Regions from separate parts of the Homo sapiens genome. Here regions 1, 2, 3, 4 and 5 are each linked to region 6. Evidence: promoter capture Hi-C in 16 types of primary human blood cells and fetal thymus (Javierre and others, 2016). All regions are on one chromosome and are shown on one strand. Each heading gives the region's core, a stretch centred on a gene start or on the middle of the fragment in contact. The rest is flanking DNA. Distances are from core to core; before and after follow the strand shown. Region 1 holds the start of OXNAD1 (oxidoreductase NAD binding domain containing 1). Region 2 overlaps LOC107986064 (a long non-coding RNA gene). Region 3 overlaps OXNAD1 (oxidoreductase NAD binding domain containing 1). Region 4 overlaps NR1D2 (nuclear receptor subfamily 1 group D member 2). Region 5 overlaps UBE2E1 (ubiquitin conjugating enzyme E2 E1). Region 6 holds the start of KAT2B (lysine acetyltransferase 2B).

Region 1 (3,091 bases), core at 55-2,554, 3.8 Mb after region 6:
TTCTCCTGCCTCAGCCTCCTGAGTGGCTGGGATTACAGGCACACCACCACACCTGGCTAATTTGTGTATTTTTTAGTAAAGACGGGGCTTCATCATGTTGGTCAGGCTGGTCTCGTATTCCTGACCTCGTGATCCGCCCTTTTAGGAATAAATGTAAAGTTTAGTAGTCATTGTAATGTTTTCTTCAAAAGTGCACAGGGATATATTATGTATATGTGTTACGTAAATGTAAACTAAATGTTATATATCATTGCTGAACCAAGTAAAGCTCATAATTTCCGTGCAAAAGTGGAACATTACATCTAAAAAGGATCTTATATCATCTCTACTCCAATCCTTTCTTAGAAGAGGAAATAAGGCCCAAAGAATGTAAATATCCAGTTGCCAGAGGTAATCAACAACTCAAGATTCCGATCCCAGATCTTCTCTCGAAAGTGCTTTTTCACTACAATGCATTTCTTCTCTACTAAGATATTAAAATGCCTAGTAATTAAGTAAGACCCAATGTAATCGGTTTTACCAAAACAGGCACTAGCACTGCTTTCAAGACAAAAATGCCTTTTATCTGCATTTCGCTTCAAGGCATACATAGGCCTCACACTGATAAACCTGCCTACTGACACCATTTCTTTCACAACGAAAAAACTGGTACTCACATAAGTAATTTGTTCCTGGGCTTTGGAGACAGACAAGCTCTTCATTATTTCCCAGGTGTATGATTTTAGTCAAGATGCCCAACTCTCTGTACCTCAGTTTAAAGATTAATAAAATGGAATAACATGTAAACTCCTAGAGTTGACAATTCCACTTAGTGCAATAGCTGGCACATAACTTCCCAATAATAAAAGGTGATGTTATTACTATTACTAAAAATCATCGTCGTTAATAATGTTATAAGCCTGGCAAACAGAAGACTAGAACTCAATCCCTGCCTTCCAGGGCTTGGTCCTTTCAGCAACACAATTTAGGGTATTTTAAGGCGTCTGGGGTGAGGAAGAAGCGGAATGTACCTGCAGCCAGGAATTAACAAGCTGACCGTCGCCCTGGGCTCAAGGTCACTCGGTGAAGCGAAATTCTACGGGAACTGTTCGTCCGTCACCAGGAAGGGAGGTCGAGGAGGCTAAGCTGCTCTCGCCTCCCCACCCCGCCTTTCCCGAGGGCCGGGAGGCTGCTACCTAGCACCTGCTGCAGCCTTCAGCGGGCTATTTAAGGCGTTAAAGCAGACGATAAGAAGCAGGGAAACTTTCCCCGCTGGCACCTAGCTTGCAGACCCGGCCACGTTTAGTTGCAGGCGCCTGGAATACTCCGCGGTCCCAGACGTGACGTAGCAGCGCGGGCGAGCCCCACATTCTATTGGTCGCTGCCGCCCAATAGGAGGAGCGGTGCGCGACCCCGCTGAGCAAGCTTTCAGTCTTCCCAGTGTCTCCGCCCCTAGTTCAGCCATCTCCATGGTGACCGCTACCGGTTATCCATTTGGCCGCGCAGGGCGGAGTTGCGTCATTGCCTATGCGCCGGAAGGGCTAGTCCTTGCCCGGCGCGACCTGATGATGCCGAGCCCAGGCCGGTTCCGGCGAAGTTAAACCCTCGGAGCTGGCCTCGGACTGCTGGGGCGTTACCCCTTCGGCCACCCCCGCTGACCATGGCAGTGTTTCATGACGAGGTGGAAATCGAGGACTTCCAATATGACGAGGACTCGGAGACGTATTTCTATCCCTGCCCATGTGGAGATAACTTCTCCATCACCAAGGTAACTTCAGGGTCCCGCCCGGCGGTTCACCCAAGCAAGCGCAGTTTGGTTCCGCCCGTTCCTTCCATCATTGGGTAGCCTTTGCTGCGCTGTGTCACCCACGCCCTCTTTCCCGTTGCTGAATCTTCCTCCTCCCGCGTCCCCCCACCCCAACTAATGCCCTGAGCTCTCTCGGTAGGCACGCAGTTCTGGCCTTAGATTAGGTCAGGGAGAGGGTGGCGGAGAGCCTCTGTCTCTCTGCCCGATCCCTGCCTTAGGGTCCCAACCTGGGATATTTCTGTCGAGGAGGGGACTCGTTTTTTGTTTCCCAGGGCTTTTGGGGCGACCGAAGCTCGCCTGACCTTCCTAGGTGTTTCCCCTAAGTGACGCTTCTAGGGGAAAATGATGTCGGCATTTCTCGCTGAAGGCCCTGGGGTTCTCACCCACCTTGGGGGGAAGGCAAGCCACCAAGAGACTTGCATCTAGGGGTGGGATAGGTTTGGGGGAGGAGATGGCGAAGAGAAGCTATCCTGACCACATGGTATTTGATTTCGTTGTAGGAAGATTTGGAGAATGGGGAAGACGTGGCAACGTGTCCTAGCTGCTCTCTCATTATAAAAGTGATTTATGACAAAGTAAGGGATATAATTTTAAAACGGGGGAAGGGTATTGTAAGTCAGTGGCAAGGACTTAGATCAGCTTGTCAGTGATGAGTGCAGGAGAATGTTTCATTGTGCTAGGTAAAGTGCGGTATTTTTTTAGGCAGGTTTTAAACACCATTGATAAACAGCCGAATAGTAAATTAAAACGTTTAAAGTTCAGATTACGTAATTTATTTTAGCTTTAGAGATAAATCTAGCTTTAGTGAAAATTATTATTTATTAAATAGAAAGTATATAGATTATTTTAGTGGACAATTTTTTATATTTCTCTTCTATTTAATATGTAATTAAAATTGTTTAGAGCTGCTAGACTTACTTTGAAGGGAACAATTGTATGGTATTTCGTGCTGGCTTATACACAGAATTCTGCATTATCTTGTTTGAGATATAATTCCTAGGTGCAGCTTTACAATTTCATTTTAGTCTTTAGTTGCCCTATTATCTTTCACCCAAGGATGTTGACAATAGAAAAAAAAAATGTTATTACTGCCCACTCCTACCCAAAGTTTTGTTCAGTACTTGGAATGGAATCTTAGGTAAGGACCTTAACACTCTCAAGGATGAAGTCCAAAATGAATATAGGGAAAGTGGGGATGAGGCACAGAGCCTCATGAGAGAAGCGGGCTATAATTTAGACTATAATTTAGAAATATAATGATTCATTCTTGTATTAAAATGTGCTCTGCAACAGAAAGCAAACGGT
Region 2 (3,191 bases), core at 234-2,733, 4.2 Mb after region 6:
TATGAAAATGTACAAGGCATCTTCAAAAAGTTCATGGAAAATGCATATTATGAAAAAATATGCATGGATTTTAATTTTTCCTTTTTTTTTCTTTTTGAGACAGAGTCTTGCTCCATTGTCCAGGCTGGAGTGCCATCTTGGCTCACTGCAACTTCTGCCTCCCAGGCTGAAGTGATTCTTGTGCCTCAGCCACCCAAATTATTGGTATTACAGGCACGCACCACCACATCTGGCTAATTTTTGTATTTTTAGTAGAAACAGGCTTTGGCCACATTGGCCAGGCTGGTCTCAAATTCCTGGGCTCAAGTGATCCACCTGTCTTGGCCTCCCAAAGTGCTGGGATTACAGCCATGAGCCACTGTGTCTCGCTGGATTTCAATTTTTTTTCACCAACATAAACTTATATTAACTTGTTATAATGTATCTGAACAGGATACAGTTTGCAGCACTAAGAAGGATAAGACGTCAGTTTGAAAAGAGCCCGTATCAGAACAACATGAATTCTGTTAAAATTGAGGCAAGAACAAACCTCAAGTTTATGGTGAAGCTTGGGTGGAAGAATGGTGAAATCATTGATGCTTTATGAATAGTTTATGGGGACAATGCCCCCTGCCCCCCAAAATAAGCAGTTTACAAATGGATAACTCATTTGAAGAAGGGACAAGACGATGTCAAACATAAAGCCCACAGTGGCAGACCATCCACATCAATTTGTGAGGAAAATATCTTGTTTGTATCCTAATTGAAGAAGACTGACGATTAACCGCACAAACAAGAGCCAACACCACAGACATCTCAATTGGTTAAGCTTACATAATTCTGACTGAAAAATTAAAGTTGAGCAAACTTTCAACTCAATGGGTGCCCAAACCATTGGGCCCAGATCAGTTTCAGGCAAGAGAAAGGCTGTCAATAGAAATTTTAAACAAGTAGGGTCAAGACCCTAAAACACTCGTACACTTCTTCAAAGAATTCTAACAGATGAAACATGGCCTTACTATTATGATCCTGAAGACAAAGCACAATCAAAGCAATGGCTACCAACAGGTGGAAGGGTCCAGCCAAAGCAAAAGCAAATCAGTCAAGAACAAAGGTCTTGGCAACAGTCTTTTGGGATGTTCAAGAGATTTTGCTTGACTTTCTGGAGGGACAATGAATGATAACATCTGCTTATTATGAAAGTATTTTTGAGAAAGTTAGTAAAAGCTTTAGCAGGAAAATGTTCAATAAAGCTTCACTAGAGAGTCCTTCTCCAACATAATGCTCCTGCTCATTCCTCTCATCAAACAAAGGCAATTTTGTTAGGATTTTGATGGAAACCCGTTAGGCATCCACCTCATACTCCTAATTTGGCTCCTTCTGACTTATTTTTGTTTCCTAATCTTAACAATTCTTTAAAAGGCATGCATTTTTCTTCTGTTATTAACATTACATTATTACTGTAAAAAAGACTGCATTGACATGAATTCCCAGGACCCTCGGTTCTTTAAGGATGAACTAAATGGCTGGTATCATTGCTTATCATCTTGAACTTGACAAATCGTATGTTGAGAAATAAAGTTTATATTTCAATTTTAACCTTTAATTCTATTTCCCACAAACATTTGAAGTACCCTGTAATTGCTGTCATAATAATAATATAGTGTAATGGTCCTTCAGAGTTTTCCACAGCCTTTCATATCACTATCTTATCTGATGGTGTGAGATGAGTAGGCCAGGAAATGTTAAGCTTAGTTTTTTTATGAATGTTGAAACTGAGACACAGAGAAGTTAAATGGTGCTCATGGTGCAGAAGGGTGAGAACCCAGCTAGGTGTGAAGCATCATCTATAAGGAGAGCTCCATGCCTACTATAATGCAGATGGTACATCATAAAACATTTTCATTAATTACTGTTAATTAGAAAATTTCAAAAGAGTCCTGGAAAGTTTCATTAGCTTCAATCACAAAATCTATTAAAATGCATATTTAGTCCATAAATTCATACTCTCAAACACACTTACATTCTCCCAAAAAATCATCTTTGCCATGTTCCTAATCAGGTTCTCATTGTGTTTTTAAATTCTAGAAATTTAACCTAGAGGAGAGATTATTTGGTGGGAAGAGGAGGGCTATATTAATTCCTGGCTCAACATCCATAGTGCTTAACAGGCTTACTTATAAATGAGGGTAAATCCTAACACTCCTAGGCCAAGATAGAACACGACTGGATATGGCACATTGGTAATTATTTACAAAGCTAACTTGTAATCACAAAGTACTGTAGTAATATTATCACAACATCTTTGTTTTGGAGAACTCAAGTGCTTTCACGACATTAACTCATTCACCCTCACTGAACTGATAAGGAGGGGTTGGGTGACAAATAGTATCTCTATTTTATCTGCTGGAGTTGAAATAAAGGGTAAAGGAGCTACTGAAGAGAATGCAAAGCAAGAGCAGTTTGATTTCCTTTTTAGCCTCATTATGACGGTTAGATCACAGTTATGAGAATTCCTCCATTTTAAGTAGAAAATATCATGACGAGGGACATAATTTTAGGTAAGAAATTGTTTCAATGGAACCATAGCATGGATATCTCAAAGAATATTGGAAGGGTCGTACTATCAGTTAATCAGGTGTGTTTTTTTATCTTGCACTCTATTTTCTTTTTTTTTTTTTTTTTTGCGTGGCTAAATCTAAGTTTTTTGTTATAAGTGCAGCATTACAATAATCTGATAGTCCTGACGAAGATCTCCATTTCTCTAGACTGCCATTAGGCTCGAATCGATTCTCTAAAGTCCATCCCAAGAGACACAACTGATGTAGTGGGTAGAAGAGACTTTTAAAAACCGACCCTGACGTCACACGTTTGTGTTTTAACCATCTGCACCTTTTATAAACCAGAGGCTGGAGCCGCCCGGGCGGACAGACCCAGGCGCACAACAATCTTCTCCCACACGAGCCTGGAATGGCAACAGCGTGCGGCTGGCTAAGAAAGAAAAGCCGTTTCAGAGCTGCGGGGTGGCGTGGGGGTGTGTGTGGCAGGATGAGGGAGTCATTCCTCTTCTCCTCCATCCAAGGATGCTATTTATTAGAAATCCTGCACATCTTTTTTTTTGTTTGTTTAAGAAAATTGATTTCTCTCGAGTGGGAGGCAAAATGCTTCAGATGCGAAAGGGGTGGAGGCAGCAAGCCTGGCTGGGGAGCTTT
Region 3 (3,386 bases), core at 256-2,755, 3.7 Mb after region 6:
TACCAGCACCTGCACTGCCCACCTCACAGGGTTGGTGTGAACATGAACTGACTCACAGTGGGTGGAACTCCCGAGTATCTGGCTCTACATAAGAAGGAATTTTGGTCATTGCAGCTGTCACAAAAGAAAAAGTGCTGGCAATACCAGCTTCCTTCTTCCCTGTCACTAAAAAACAGATTCTAGGAATAAAGAAACTTGTATTAAGAGCATAGGTTTCTCCCATTACACGTTCCTGGCATAAATCAACTAAATGAATGCCCTCCTAAGAAGTAATAACACATCGCGTGCTTTTTGAGAACCAAACCCTTAGCATTCACACCTTGGCACCTTGCATGTCAGGTGAGCAGTAGGTACTTCTGGACATGAATTTAATTTGGTCTCTGCAAGTTAAAGTTGAGTTAAATTTAGAGAAGATCTAAGAAAAATGAAAATTATTTGAATTCACAAAAACATGTCTTTTTTGGTAAAGAACTGTTAAATGAATGGATACTCTTTCAGGGGAAAAAATGTCTGAACCTCACTATTTTAAATATGTGGGAGATTTTTACATGAATGGTGATAAGTGGGTTTTCATTTTTGACAAAAGAAATTAGCAGCAAGGGAGCATTCAGTTAGGAATAACTAAAATCTAGGAACTGCTACAGTGGCTACCAAAGTGCTTTAAAATATTCTTTCCTTTCAAGTCTCAAAAATAGAATTTAAGATACAAGAGGCTCTGCCTAACGATGACAATGAATTTCATCTCCTATATCCTCCTTCCCTCCCTCTCTTGCTTGCCTGTGCAGTTCTCTCTTTATCTATAAGAATCAGAGTGAAAGAGACTGAAATAATTTTCTCCAGTGGCCATCTTTGGCATGCTTAGTAATGACAACAAAGAAAGCCTCTAGGTTATTGTTTTTAGAAACCAGAGTATTTTCAACTCTAAAGTTGGCAAGAAAATGTGCCCCAGGGAAAGATAATATTCAAGAAGCCTGTCTTATCCTTGACGACAAAATAATCTTCGGTAGGTCTGTATTCTGATTTGGTAGCATCCGGGAAGAATTAAAAGCCATCTTTGTCTTTTTGTTGATCAATAAAAACTGCGAGGGTAACACGAACACAAGACTCAAAGTACTGTACACTGTAATATGTAAGTGAATAAAAGGACATTACCTTCAATTACACAGCAATGTATCTAATTTTGGTATAGATTTTCTACTTGTGAAATAAACAACCTTTCCACAGCAACTGGAGCTGAGCACACAATAGCTGTCTAGAACCCTTTACCCTGCCAAGAGCTTGAGCCAAAGCAGATAAAATAAAGGAAGACGTTTATGGCACTTTATTCCATGTCTCAACGGTGCAGCCTGCTGCCACCCAGACACTCACGTGCCTCCATTGTCCACTCGAATGGCTTAATAAGACAAATCCTCAGGAGGAAAATAGCCACCTGAAAATGATTCCAAGAAAAATCTGACTTCATAAAGGCTGTTTGCAACTCCCACTGGGCAGAGTAGAGCAGGCACTACAATTAGGATGTGCATTCAGGCAATAACACTTTGAGATTTTCTACAGCCTGTAAGAATAAGTTTCTTCACTGAAATGCCAATGAGGCATGAAACCAAGCAGGAAGCTGTGGACCAGGACCAGGCCAGGTCGCGTGAGAAGCTAAGGATAACAGGGAGGATGGGGAGATGTTCATGGCACTAGGAACTGGGATGGCTATGCTTATTTCAACTCTGAGCAAGGGGCATGCAGATACCTCGTTGCTCTCACCCCAGCAGCATATTTTAGCACCTCTAGGAGCAACCTAGAGCCAGTAATGAGGGGAAAATCCAGAGACTCCAAAAAGCAATGAGGCAGCTGAGGCCACACTGACGGAGAGACTCAGAAGGTTGCAGGGTAAAAATGTGACAGGATACATTTACAATGGAAATGCCTACACAGGCATCTGGGGGTTATCCTGGACAGACACAACTTGACGTGTAAACCACAAGAATATATTATGTTGCTCCTGCACATTTTTAAAAACTTATTTTAAAAATTTCCTTAATAGAAATCTTTTTCTTTTGGTATACGGTTCTATGAATTTTAACACACATATAGATCTGGGTAACAATCATCAAAATCAAAACATATATTAGTTCCATCACCCCCTGAAAATATTCCCCTGTGCTATCGATCCTACCTTTACAGTAATCTCAACCCCAGTCAACCACTGGTTTCCCATCATTATATCTTTGTCTTCCAGAATGTGACAAAAATGGGATTTTACAGTATGTAACCTTTTGGGACTGCCTCCTTGCACTCAACAGAATGCCTCTGAGATTCACCCACATTGCTGCATGCATCAATAATTCATCTCTTTAATAGTCCCTTGTATGACTATATCACAAGTTATCCATTCACCTGCTGAGGGACATTTGGGTTGTTTCTAGAAGTTTTTAATAATTATGAATAGAACTGCTATAAATATTCATGTTATGCTTTTATATAAACATAGCCTTCATTTCTCTAAGACACTCAGAAGTGGTATTGCTGGGTCATATGTTAGGTGTATGTTTAACTTTATAGAAAACTGCTAAAATGCTTTCCAGATCGGCTGTACTATTTTGCATTCCCACTAGCAATATAAGCAATATATGAGAGTTCCAGTTGCTCCACATCCTTGCCAACGCTTGGTATTGTCAATATTTTTAATTTTAGACATTAGACTAGATCGTAGTGGCATCCCACCACATATGGTTTTAATTTACATTTCCCTCAGGGTTAACGATGTTTCAATACCTTTCATTGCTTATTTGCCATCATCATATCCTTTTTTACTGAAGTGTCTGTTCAATCCTTTGTCCATTTAAAAAAATCATGTTGCTTGTTTCTTTTTGTTGACTTTTGAGATTTCTTTATATATTCTAGATTCAAGCCCTTTGTTAGATATCTGATTTGTAAATATTTTCTCCTAGTCTGTAGCTTGTTTTTAAATTGTGTTAAATGCCTTTTGTAGAAAAAGTTTTACTTTTGACCATGTCCTATCATCAACCTTTTTTTTGATGGATCTTGCTTTTGGTATTGTGTTTAAGAATTTTACCTACCCTCAAGTTCCAAATATCCCATTTTCTTCTAGAACTTTTATAGTACCATGTTTTACATTTAGATCTACAATCCGTTTTGAGTTAATTCTGAATATAAAGTATGAGGTTTAGGTTTAGGTTGAAGGTTTTTGGTTTTTCGTTTTTTTGTTTTTTGCATCTAGATGCAAAATTGTTCCAGAACTTTTGTTGAAAAGTTTATCCTTTTGCCTTTCAATTTTTCCATTGAATCTACCACCTTTGTCAAAAATAAAGTGACCATATATGTCAGTCTATTTCTGAACTCTTCATTCTGTAACATTATTTGATGTGTTTCTC
Region 4 (3,417 bases), core at 289-2,788, 3.9 Mb before region 6:
GACGAGAACACATCCTCAGGAATGTGCAATTTTAACAAGCTCTCCAAGCAATTATTTGCACATTGAAGTTTCAAAATGGCTACAATCAGTGAATTCAAACACAAATTGGCCCATAGTTTTAAAGATTGATGATTTCATCGATACAACCGCCAGAATATCATTAATACCCTGTGAATCCAAAGAGAAACCAACTTAACCTAGAAACCTAGCCAGTGTCATGTTACTGGATAAAACCATTGTGCTGTCTTTATATAACTTTAGAGATCTTAAGTCCACATTAAAAATTCCAGGTATTAGCACACTGCTACTTTTTCACAGATGTCTCCACTCACAATAGGACACTTTACAAAGACAAATATTCTTAGTCCTCAATGAAATTCCAAAGGAAGATCTCACAGCTATTTGTCTTCTCTAAAATAGTGTCTTAAGTACTAAATTCACATCTAACATCTCAGGAAAATAAAAGATAAGAAAGTGATGTTTTTCCTTGGAAGTAAGACTTTCCTAGGGCCCCCATTTTCAGTCATTTATGTTCACAAGATCTGCTGACTACCTTAGCTAAGAAATAAACTTTTAGAAATTAGAGCTGGCCGGGCACAGTGGCTCACGCCTGTAACCTCAGCACTTTGGGAGGCCGAGGCAGGCGGATCACCTGAGGTCGGGAGTCCAAGACCAGCCTGACCAACATGGAGAAACCCCATCTCTACTAAAAATACAAAATTAGCCAGGTGTGGTGGCGCATGCCTGTAATCCCAGCTCCTCAGGAGGCTGAGACAGGAGAATCACTTGAACCCGGGAGGCGGAGGTTGCGGTGAGCCGAGATGGCACCATTGCACTCCAGCCTGGGCAACAAGAGTGAAAACTCCATCTCAAAAAAAAAAAAAAAAAAAGAAAAAGAAAGAGAAAAGAAAAGAAATTAGAGCTATGCAGATGGCTTAAAAATTGGTTGCAAGCACTGACGGGGCAATGGACTGTATCGTAATTAATTAACCAAAAAACAATTTCCTTTGCAAAAGCTTCAATATCCAACCTAAAAGAAACTACTGGGCTATTATCAATCCAGCGAAGATCCAATTCCTGTCTTAAGAAAACAAGCATCTGTGCCAGGCACCAGAAAATCAAAGAAGACCCATCTAGAAGTAGCTGCATTCTCCTAGCAAGACCTTCAATATTGATTTAGTTGTCTTGGCATCTATTCTTGCTACTAGACACCCATCTATGAACCTGACTGATAGCAACCCAAATGGGTTAAATTTTAATTTCTTAGAAGAAAAGGAGTACATCTAGTAGTTCCTCAACCTAATGAAGAAAGGAAAGTGAAACTACAAGTCACCAAGTACCTACTGGATGTCAGGAATAAAATGACACAATTTCATCCTCACAAGAAGAACTCTGTGAATTAACTTTCATCAAATCATTTTTTAAACAAGGAGCTCAGAGAGGATAAGTCAGCCACTAAGTGGCAGGCCAAAGTTTAAAGTCAAGGTTGTCCAATTCCAGAGTACAAACTTATTTGGTGAGAAGACCTGAGCAAGCAAGTCACTTTCAATCTTTCTAAACCTGAGTGGTCTTCTATAAAATTGGAATATCTGCCACTTATTACAAGACTGAAATGAAATGGCATTCATAAGTGCTTTTTTCATACACTGTTTTTGATGATAAAGTAAGAAGAGTAAAAATCCCCAAACCAGCAAGTCCCAACACCTCCAAGAAACAGGCAGTATGTACCTCTTTGAAACCCTGAGCTAAAATTAGCTGAAGCAGTCTTCTCTATTTTCAGTTGAAAGGGACCCTGGACCTGGGCCAGGTTCCCAGGCTAGGGCTTACCCAGTGGTCAACTTCAGACAAGCCTTAAGTCAATATCCAATTTTGTACTGCTAGGAAGCACTGATATTCCTGCATATATTGGGGTCTTCTTACCCATTTTCTACACTTGTCCATCATCAAAACCCTCACACTTCCTCTGTCCACCATCCTGGAGATTATGTTTGACTTCAAGTCATGACTGTACTTTTCTGCCTTGTGACTTAGAACAAAACATTTTATCACCAAGAAGCTTTAGTTTCCCTCATTTTAAAAGTGTTATAAATAATTTCTACTCCAAGGGTGGTAGAGTAGATCTAACTGAAGCACTAAAATTCCAATTGTGTCCTAGGTGTCAGGGCTCCAGAGAACAGCATGGTCCTTTCCCTAAAATGCCTTATAGGCCAACTGGGGAAACACCTATGTTATTAGGAGCAATGTTTCACACACATGATTGTGACTGCTGAGGATCATACTAAAGAGGGCAGAAATCAATAGGGGCAAACACATCCAAGGTTGCAATATCTAAGTGGGGAATTGAAGACTGTTTAAATCATCAAAAGAGACATTTTTTAAATAGGGTGACACAAAAATAAATGGTGTGTTTTTTGTTGTTTTTTTTTTTCAGACGGAGTTTCGCTCTGTCACCCAGGATGGAGTGCAATGGTGTGATCTCGACTCACTGCCACCTCCGCCTCCTCGGTTCAAGCGATTCTCCTGCCTCAGTCTCCCAAGTAGCTGGGATTACAGGCACCCGCCACCACACCCGGCTAATTTTTGTATTTTTAGTAGAGACAGGGTTTCACATGTTAGCCAGGCTGGTCTCGAACTCCTGACCTCAGGTGATCTGCCCATCTCAGCCTCCCAGATTGCTAGGATTACAGGCATGAGCCACCATGCCCAGCCAAATCGGTCTTATTTTATAAAATAGACATTATTTTTATCTCCATGTAAATTACTGGAGAAGGGAGGTCAAGGTGTAATCTAATGTCTGGAAATAAGCCAGCATGACTAAAGAGAGGACTGATGAAACTGGGAGGCCCTGCAGATGACTATCCTTTTCCACTAGCTATAACCTACATATATCACTGCAAATTGAGTGGGGATCCATACACATGCAGTATCTCCTTCACCCTCAAGAAGACAGGACCACCAAGTTGCGTATAAATCTTCAAATATTATGCAGGCTAAAGTACATTATAGCACAGTAGTTAACAGTTTGTGTTCCCAAGTAAATTTTGTGGATTCAAATTCTGGCTCTACTACTTGCCTGAGTAAGTTATTTAGCTTCAATTTACTTAGCCCCGCATCATTAAGATGGTGGCAACGGCACCTTCCTTCATGGAATTAACATGAGGAACACATGTAAAAGGCCTGGCACAGAGTAAGAAGCTGATGATTATTTTTTTGTCATCATTATACTAGAAGAGTTCCAACAGAATGGTTCAAACCAAAGTAACTAATCCTCCCTACCCATTATTCACCTCATTTTTTAATGTGTGTTAAGGATCCAGTGGTTTCTTTGTAGGTTATTTCCACACTACCTTTTGAATCTCTTAACCCTACTGACCAGTAGAGCAACTTTTCTTCAATTCTTGCTTTTCCTTGCTCCAA
Region 5 (3,420 bases), core at 669-3,168, 3.8 Mb before region 6:
GTTTTGATCGTGCTGAAACCCCAGTCTCCTGGTTGTCACAATTTTTCAACACTGCCTTTACATGCATAAAGGTATACACACTGCAATGGTGAAACTAAACATCATTCAGATGTTTAAGTCACACTTCTATCCTTAACGCATTTAGTAACATCAGATAAATGAAAGATGCTAAAAGGAAGAATACTTTTTAGCACATAAGATACAGGGTTTTATAAAGGATGACTTCTGCTGAACCTATTTCTTATACCCAAACAACCATTTAAAACATGCTGAACCTGGACGAGGTATGTAACACTCCACTGTTGCAAGAAAAGGATCTCTTTCCATTGTGAACCATGATGAGCAGCCTGGGACTTCTGAACTGACATCTCATTACCATTACCACCAATTCGAGGAGGTATTGGAATGCCAGAAAAACACAATGTAAATTCACAGAAACTACGTGGAAGTATACAAAGTGCTAACTTGGAGCATCTGTGTGCAAGGAGCAGGATCAGAAGAGGTCATCAGGACTATCTTTTGCCTTTTACTCCACAAACTTCTGTATTTGAATTTTTCAAAAACATGCATTCTTGTATAATATAATGGCTTAAAACTATTTAAAATATAGGCAGTGTTAGGGAAAAAAAAGCTATCAAAAGAAGGCTAAATGGAAATTCTGTCACATACAGAAAAACTAGTATCAGGGCCAGGCACCATGGCTCACGCCTGTAATCCCAGCACTCTGGAAGGGCAAAGTGGGTGGACGGCTTGAGGCCAGGAGTTTAAGATCAGCCTGGCCAATAGGTAAAACCTGGTCTCTACAAAAAAATACAAAAAATTAACCGAGTGTAGTGTCGAACGCCTGTAGTTCCTGCTACTTGGGGGCCTGAAGCAGGAGGACAGCTTAAGCCCAGGAGGTCAAGGCTGCAGTGAGCACCACTGCACTCCAGCCTGGGTGACAAAATGAGACCCTGTCTCAAAAAAAAAGTGAGAAAGAAAGAAATGTATTTTTATTATTCTCACCCATGCTTGAAGTGTTTAATGACTTTTCAGACATTTTATCCTAAAATAGCACCCCATCTGAATTTCTAGGTTAAGTCACTGAGACATTTACTCATGAAACAAATATATCCATTAAATAAAATCTGAAGTTTAAAGGACTTAGGCAAAATATGCCATTTAGTCTGTATAGACATACTGTCTACAGATATTCGTGTCTACAGGCTAGTTATAACTAGTCAATTTAGCAAAGTTTGAGCCCTGGGCTATAAATAACAGCTGCAAAACTGACTCTGGTGGCCCAGAGTTCATCAGCTATCTAAAAGGCATAATTTTACAATCTAAGATCTGGCACGCTTTAGGGAATCATTACAAAGTTAACATATTTTTTTCCCTAAAAGAATAGAGCTAAATGATATGGGAATAAAAGCCTAACCAAAATGAAGAGTGAGTTGGGAAACTATTTTGTGTGTGTGTGTATGCATATATATACACACACACACAAATCACAGATACTAAAATTAAGAATTTGATTTCTATGGCAACATAAAGCAGTTTGAAAATACTTACTTAAAATGACTTTGGACCAGGTCATTGAACACAATCTGTACTGTGTTCTAAAAAATATCCACCCAACATAATATACAACATTAAGAATTTAATTTTATGTTTTCATACATTATAACATATTGAGCAATTGCATTTCACATAAGTTTTGATGCTCAGTAACTTCAAATATTTTTGCCAAGTGCCAAAATTAGTGAACACAAACAGTGCACCTTCCTTCAAGAGGAGCAATTCTACTGATTTGCAATAATCAACTTTTTTTTTTGAGACAGGGTCTCACTCTGTCGCCCAGGCTGGAGTGCATCACCATGCCCGGCTAATTTTTGTATTTACTGAGAAGTTACTATGTGCCAAGTGCCATATTTTAATAACGTGTTTAAAACTACACACTGAATGCTGACTGAAGAAAGGAAGTATGGCAAAGGGTAAAAATATAAGACAGACTAATTGAAAACCAATTATTTAACTCATTCAAATCTCATGCTTTCATGCTGAGGGTAATTTTAAACATGTACGCACTTAATATATCACTTAATTCATAGATTTTCATTGGACGCTGACTTCAAAAAGTATCCCCAAGGCCAGGTGCAGTGGCTCACGCCCGTAACCCCAGCACTTTGGGAGGCCAAGGCGGGCAGATCACAAGGTCAGGAGTTCAAGACCTGCCTGGCCAACATGGTGAAACCCCATCTCTACCCAAAATACAAAAATTAGCTGGGCATGGTGGCACGTGCCTATAATCCCAGCTACTCAGGAGGCAGGAGAATTGCTTGAACCAGGACCCGGGAGGTGGAGGTTGCAATGAGCCGAAATCATGCCACTGCACTCCAGCCTGGGCTACAGAGCAAGACTCCGTCTCAAAAAGAAAATAAATAAATAAATAAATAAATAATCCATCTTTATCTCCAATAAAGTACATTAAAATACTAAATAATTAAATTCCAAAAGGTAACAGCACAAAACGTAAAACCGAACTCTTTTAAGAGAGCTGAATATTGGGACTACTATATAACATTAAGACAGCACCATTAGCCAACCAAAAGTAAAAATTTTAATTCACATTACTCAAACGGCCCCACTGGAAAATATCTTCAGAAAATAAAGTCATCTTTATTGTTAAAAGACAATGTAATATACATTCTCTTGCAAAATGAAGATGCCTCGTATTTTCTCTCAAATCAGAGATTTTTCTTAAAATTTAGTATTTTGAGCTTTGACTCCGTAACACCAATCACCCAACAGCCACCCAGTTTGGTGCATCCCCTGACCACAGGTAATTCCCAAACGTTTCACCTTGAAGGGGTAATTGGGAGGGTTTCCCAAAGATAAAAAAGTTCCACATGCCTCAGGAGCATAAATCTTTCACACATAAACTCAGTTAAAACGATGTGAAACTGAAGTGTACTTACACTGTTTTTTTTTTTTAAATGCTTAATCCCATGAAAATCTTCAAATGGTTTACAATTTTAGATTTGACTGTGCTTATTCACAAGAAAGCCATTATATGTTTTAATCAATGTTATTAATAACACACACATAGGAGACACACAATACCAAGCAGGAGCAATAACTAGACAGCACAGAACCACCTTGGGGAATGTACATGGATTCCACACAAACAACCAAGGGAAGCTACAGGCTTCCACGTGAACCACCACCATCAAAATAATGAGTTAGGCCTAAGTCTTATGGTTTTTCCACTTCTCAACCATCTTGAGAGATTATTAGCCAGGAAAGAATTCCCCAGAATGATTAAGTGTTCCAATTATAAACTATAGTTTAAGAGCATTTCAAACTCAAAATGACTTTCCTTACAAAACAGGACAAAGTTTCACGGAAGAGCATCCCACACCTAATCAACATTAAGAATGA
Region 6 (3,100 bases), core at 373-2,872:
ATTAAAGTTTGAGGAGCACTGGGCTAGATCCTACATTCACTCAACAAATATTTATTGAACCAGTGTAGGATACAGAGGTGCTTAACATAAACCTGAGCATATGGTGTGGAAAAAGAGCAAGCATAGACATTCCATTGTGACTGAGAAGCTCCTGCAAGTACCAAGAAGAGTATAACCTAGATGTTCTAGTAGAATAAATTATAGTTATGTCAAAATTCAGAAGTGGTCACTGCAGCTTGGTTGTGACAATCGGGAATCTGGAATCTGGGAACTTGACCCTCTTTACAGCAGGCAGGAAGAATACAGGGAGGTGTGAGTGTGTGTGAGTGTGTCTCTTCCCTGCCTCAGCCACAGGCCGCAGGAGCTGACAAGGCCAAGTCCCCGCCCCCCTCAGCTGTCACCCTGTCAAAACAAAGCCGCTGCTGACAGCGCAGGGCCAGCCTGCCCCGCGGCCTCGGGCAATCCTCCCACCTCGGGAACACAGCCTCCACATCTGGATCTGCAGCTGGAGGTGACAGGGTGCCTAAACTGGCATGGAGAGTGGGTAGCAAGAAATGGGTGTCCTCAAACTGAGCAGTAGCGCCCGCCGCGCTGGGCTGTCACTTTGCCAAATCCTGTTTACACCTCGAGCAGCTGGGACAGCGTTTTAACTAAACAAGTAATAATACAATAATGACAGGGCTGTCACCGCGCGCGGCAGTGCCTCCGCCCCCAGCCGAGGGCGCCAGGCACCACAAGACCCTCGCCTCGGACTCTGCCCACCTTCCCACCCCGCGCTTTCCTCCCCTTCGCTTTCCCAAAGCGCCAGGAGTCCGGGAGTCTTCTCCACCCCCACTCCTTGCACCCAGTTCCTCCCAGTGGGACACAGGAAGGGATCGATTGCAGAAGGGACCACTCAGTCCCCCAAAAGATTTTTCCTTGCCCCTGGGTCACCCGCCACATGGAGAGCACCGCTCCACTCCCGGGAAAGTGACTCCAGCGAGCTCCTACAGAGCAACAAAACCCCAAGGTAGCCCGGGAGCTCGGATGCCGAAGCTACTCCTTTCAAGCGGAAGGAATGAAGGGCTCTCCGTCTTAGTGATCCCCCTTCTTCAAACCCAGCAGGACTCTTATCCAAGAAGAAGCTAATTGGGCGCGGGCGACAAGAGCACTTCCGCGGTGCAGCGGCCCCAGGCGGGAGGCGAGAGGCAGGAGGCGGGAGGCGGAGGTGGAAGCGGGAGGGGGAGGGGGGTCCCGCGGGCTGGGCCCCTAGCACCCATCCGCGGTCCGAGAGCGGCGAGCGCGTACCTTGCAGGCGGAGTACACTCCGAGTTTCTCCAGTTTCTTGGCCCGCGGAGCGGAGCGTAGTTGCGCTTTCTTCACGGCGATTCGGGCCGAGCCACCGCCTCCCGGTCCTTCGGCCGTGCCCGCTGCAGCCACTGCCGTCGCCGGACCGCAGGCGCCCGAGCCCCCGGCGGCAGCGGCGCAGGGGGAGCCCTGCGGGGGCGCGGGCGGAAGCGCCGCAGGCTGCGGGGGCAGCGCCCCGGGCCCGGCCCCTGCCCCGGCTCCTGCCCCGCAGCCGCCCGGCCCGGCCCCGCCAGCCTCGGACATGCCGCCCCGGAGCACGGCAGGAGGCGCCGAGTGTCAGGCGCCGCCGCCGCCGCCAGGGTCTCCCTCTCGGGCTCTGGTAGTCGGGAGAGCGAGACCCTCCCCCCACGCCCTCCCGCCCCCTTCGCCCACCCCCCTCCCCGCCCCCGCCCTCCCCCTAGCGCGCCGCTCGCCCGGCTCGCTCTGGCCGGGCCCCGCGCGCTGATGGTGGTGGCGGCGGCGGCAGCGGCGGCAGCTGCTCCCCCAGGAGGGAGGGGACTAGCGGCTCCGCTGCCGCTGCCGCCGCCGCCACAGCACACGCCCTCCCTTGGTTCTCCTGCCCGGGACTCTGCTCCGCGCCCTGGCTGCGGACATGTTCCTCGGGACTGCGGACTAGGTGTGCGTGCCGGCGGCTGCCAGCCTCACGGTGTCTGCCAGCGCTGGGAGGCCCCCCACGGCCTCTTTTCCGCTGCCCGCGGGGTTTGCACCCCCCACCCCAGTGCTTCGACACCTACCGCTCGCCCGCCAGGGGGCGAGGCCAATCCCTGGGTGTGGGTGAGGGTGGGGACGAGGGTGGGGGTAGGGGCCTGGAGCCCAGGCACCTGCTGGCCACCTCCCCCCTCCGCGGCCCCCCATCCGACCCCCGCACGCCTGCACCAGTGGGAGGGGGCAGCCTCTCAATCATTTGTCCTTTCACTCTCTTCCACCCTGTCTCTGACAGAGAGACAACTTCCTCCACCCTAGCGGGAGCCAGAGGAAAAAAAATATATTTTTGAAAAGTACCCGTCCATGCTAATCTTTTTCTTTGTTGCTAATTCACCAAAATAAAGACGTGATGTTCTCCCTTTCTCTTTTTAAATACTTTCTGTCAAACTATTTTTTAATATAATTAACACTTTCTTCCCATAGCAATTTCTGGGTCAAATCTGCCGGAGGAGGGGAAAAAAACTTACTATTCTCTGTAATTTTTGTTTGAAAGTGCTGGTTGCTAAAAGAAAGATTGTCTAAAAAGCATTGTCAAAAACTATGCAGTGGAAAAAGTTTGAATACAAAAAGTTTGTTAACAGGATTCGTTTCTGGGTGGTGGTTCTATAACGTTACGTAGTTTTCAAAATTGTGCCACCGCGTGCGTATTAACCAGGAAAAAGATATAAGCATAATTCAAAAGAATAAATATCGATTTTGGCCTCAAACTTTAAAAAGAAAAAAAAAACCCTCAACTCAGTGTTTCCAACTCTTGTTGAAAACTGTTGTTTTCACTGTTGATGACTGTGGAGCATACAAGTCAGTGCTGCGTTTGAAAGTGGTGTACCGTTGATCGCCTTCTTAAGCAGGTTTTAAAAGCCCAGGGCTTTTTCTCAGGACCCTTCAGAAGTGCCCTACTTTTTGTTATATGCAATGTGGGTCATAATGTGCTTATTATCAGATTTTATGCATGCTGTATAGCTCTCAGGCCAGACGCTTTAAGGGGTGTGCTTTTCGTGGGAAACATTCCCCTTCTTCTTTTTCCAGATTCTCTGTGTTATTTTGACTT

What was found. Contacts are between HindIII fragments. The CHiCAGO score rates a contact against its expected background, and 5 or more counts as called.
Region 1: the fragment with the promoter of OXNAD1 here is called in contact with the fragment with the promoter of KAT2B in region 6 in 1 of 17 cell types (fetal thymus); the score reaches 7.0 in fetal thymus.
Region 2: a contact is called between a fragment that was not itself captured here and the fragment with the promoter of KAT2B in region 6, in 1 of 17 cell types (non-activated CD4 T cells). The highest score is 5.2, in non-activated CD4 T cells.
Region 3: a contact is called between a fragment that was not itself captured here and the fragment with the promoter of KAT2B in region 6, in 1 of 17 cell types (fetal thymus). The highest score is 6.2, in fetal thymus.
Region 4: a fragment that was not itself captured here is called in contact with the fragment with the promoter of KAT2B in region 6 in 6 of 17 cell types (total CD8 T cells, naive CD8 T cells, monocytes and 3 more); the score reaches 9.1 in total CD8 T cells.
Region 5: a fragment that was not itself captured here is called in contact with the fragment with the promoter of KAT2B in region 6 in 1 of 17 cell types (non-activated CD4 T cells); the score reaches 5.4 in non-activated CD4 T cells.

The regions. Positions count from the first base shown.
Region 1 is chr3:16,263,425-16,266,515 of GRCh38, reverse strand. OXNAD1 (oxidoreductase NAD binding domain containing 1) reads right to left here and starts at 1,304. Exons shown (of 9, transcript NM_138381.5): 1 at 1,011-1,304. DPH3 (diphthamide biosynthesis 3) reads left to right here and starts at 1,573. Exons shown (of 3, transcript NM_206831.3): 1 at 1,573-1,747; 2 at 2,287-2,361. The coding sequence starts at 1,640. RefSeq lists an enhancer at 1,432-1,741. The HindIII fragment of the contact is 2,642 bases long and covers 1-1,406 here.
Region 2 is chr3:15,860,510-15,863,700 of GRCh38, reverse strand. The region is part of intron 1 of LOC107986064 (a long non-coding RNA gene); the gene reads right to left. Among named protein-coding and RNA genes, the nearest start is that of MIR563, 12 kb to the left of the region's middle. The HindIII fragment of the contact is 497 bases long and covers 1,235-1,731 here.
Region 3 is chr3:16,296,615-16,300,000 of GRCh38, reverse strand. The region is part of intron 6 of OXNAD1 (oxidoreductase NAD binding domain containing 1); the gene reads right to left. LOC107986065 (a long non-coding RNA gene) reads left to right here. Exons shown (of 2, transcript XR_001740608.2): 2 at 1-3,343. Among named protein-coding and RNA genes, the nearest start is that of OXNAD1, 33 kb to the right of the region's middle. The HindIII fragment of the contact is 7,562 bases long and covers 1-3,386 here.
Region 4 is chr3:23,948,376-23,951,792 of GRCh38, reverse strand. All of the region lies in intron 1 of NR1D2 (nuclear receptor subfamily 1 group D member 2), which reads right to left. Among named protein-coding and RNA genes, the nearest start is that of NR1D2, 4.8 kb to the right of the region's middle. RefSeq lists a silencer at 2,761-3,055. The HindIII fragment of the contact is 1,040 bases long and covers 1,019-2,058 here.
Region 5 is chr3:23,812,548-23,815,967 of GRCh38, reverse strand. The region is part of intron 3 of UBE2E1 (ubiquitin conjugating enzyme E2 E1); the gene reads right to left. Among named protein-coding and RNA genes, the nearest start is that of UBE2E1-AS1, 7.4 kb to the right of the region's middle. The HindIII fragment of the contact is 7,557 bases long and covers 1-3,420 here.
Region 6 is chr3:20,038,968-20,042,067 of GRCh38, reverse strand. KAT2B (lysine acetyltransferase 2B) reads right to left here and starts at 1,622. Exons shown (of 18, transcript NM_003884.5): 1 at 1,288-1,622. The coding sequence starts at 1,590. RefSeq lists enhancers at 121-310, 1,027-1,997 and silencers at 1,161-1,220, 1,421-1,550, 1,721-2,360. The HindIII fragment of the contact is 5,734 bases long and covers 1-3,100 here.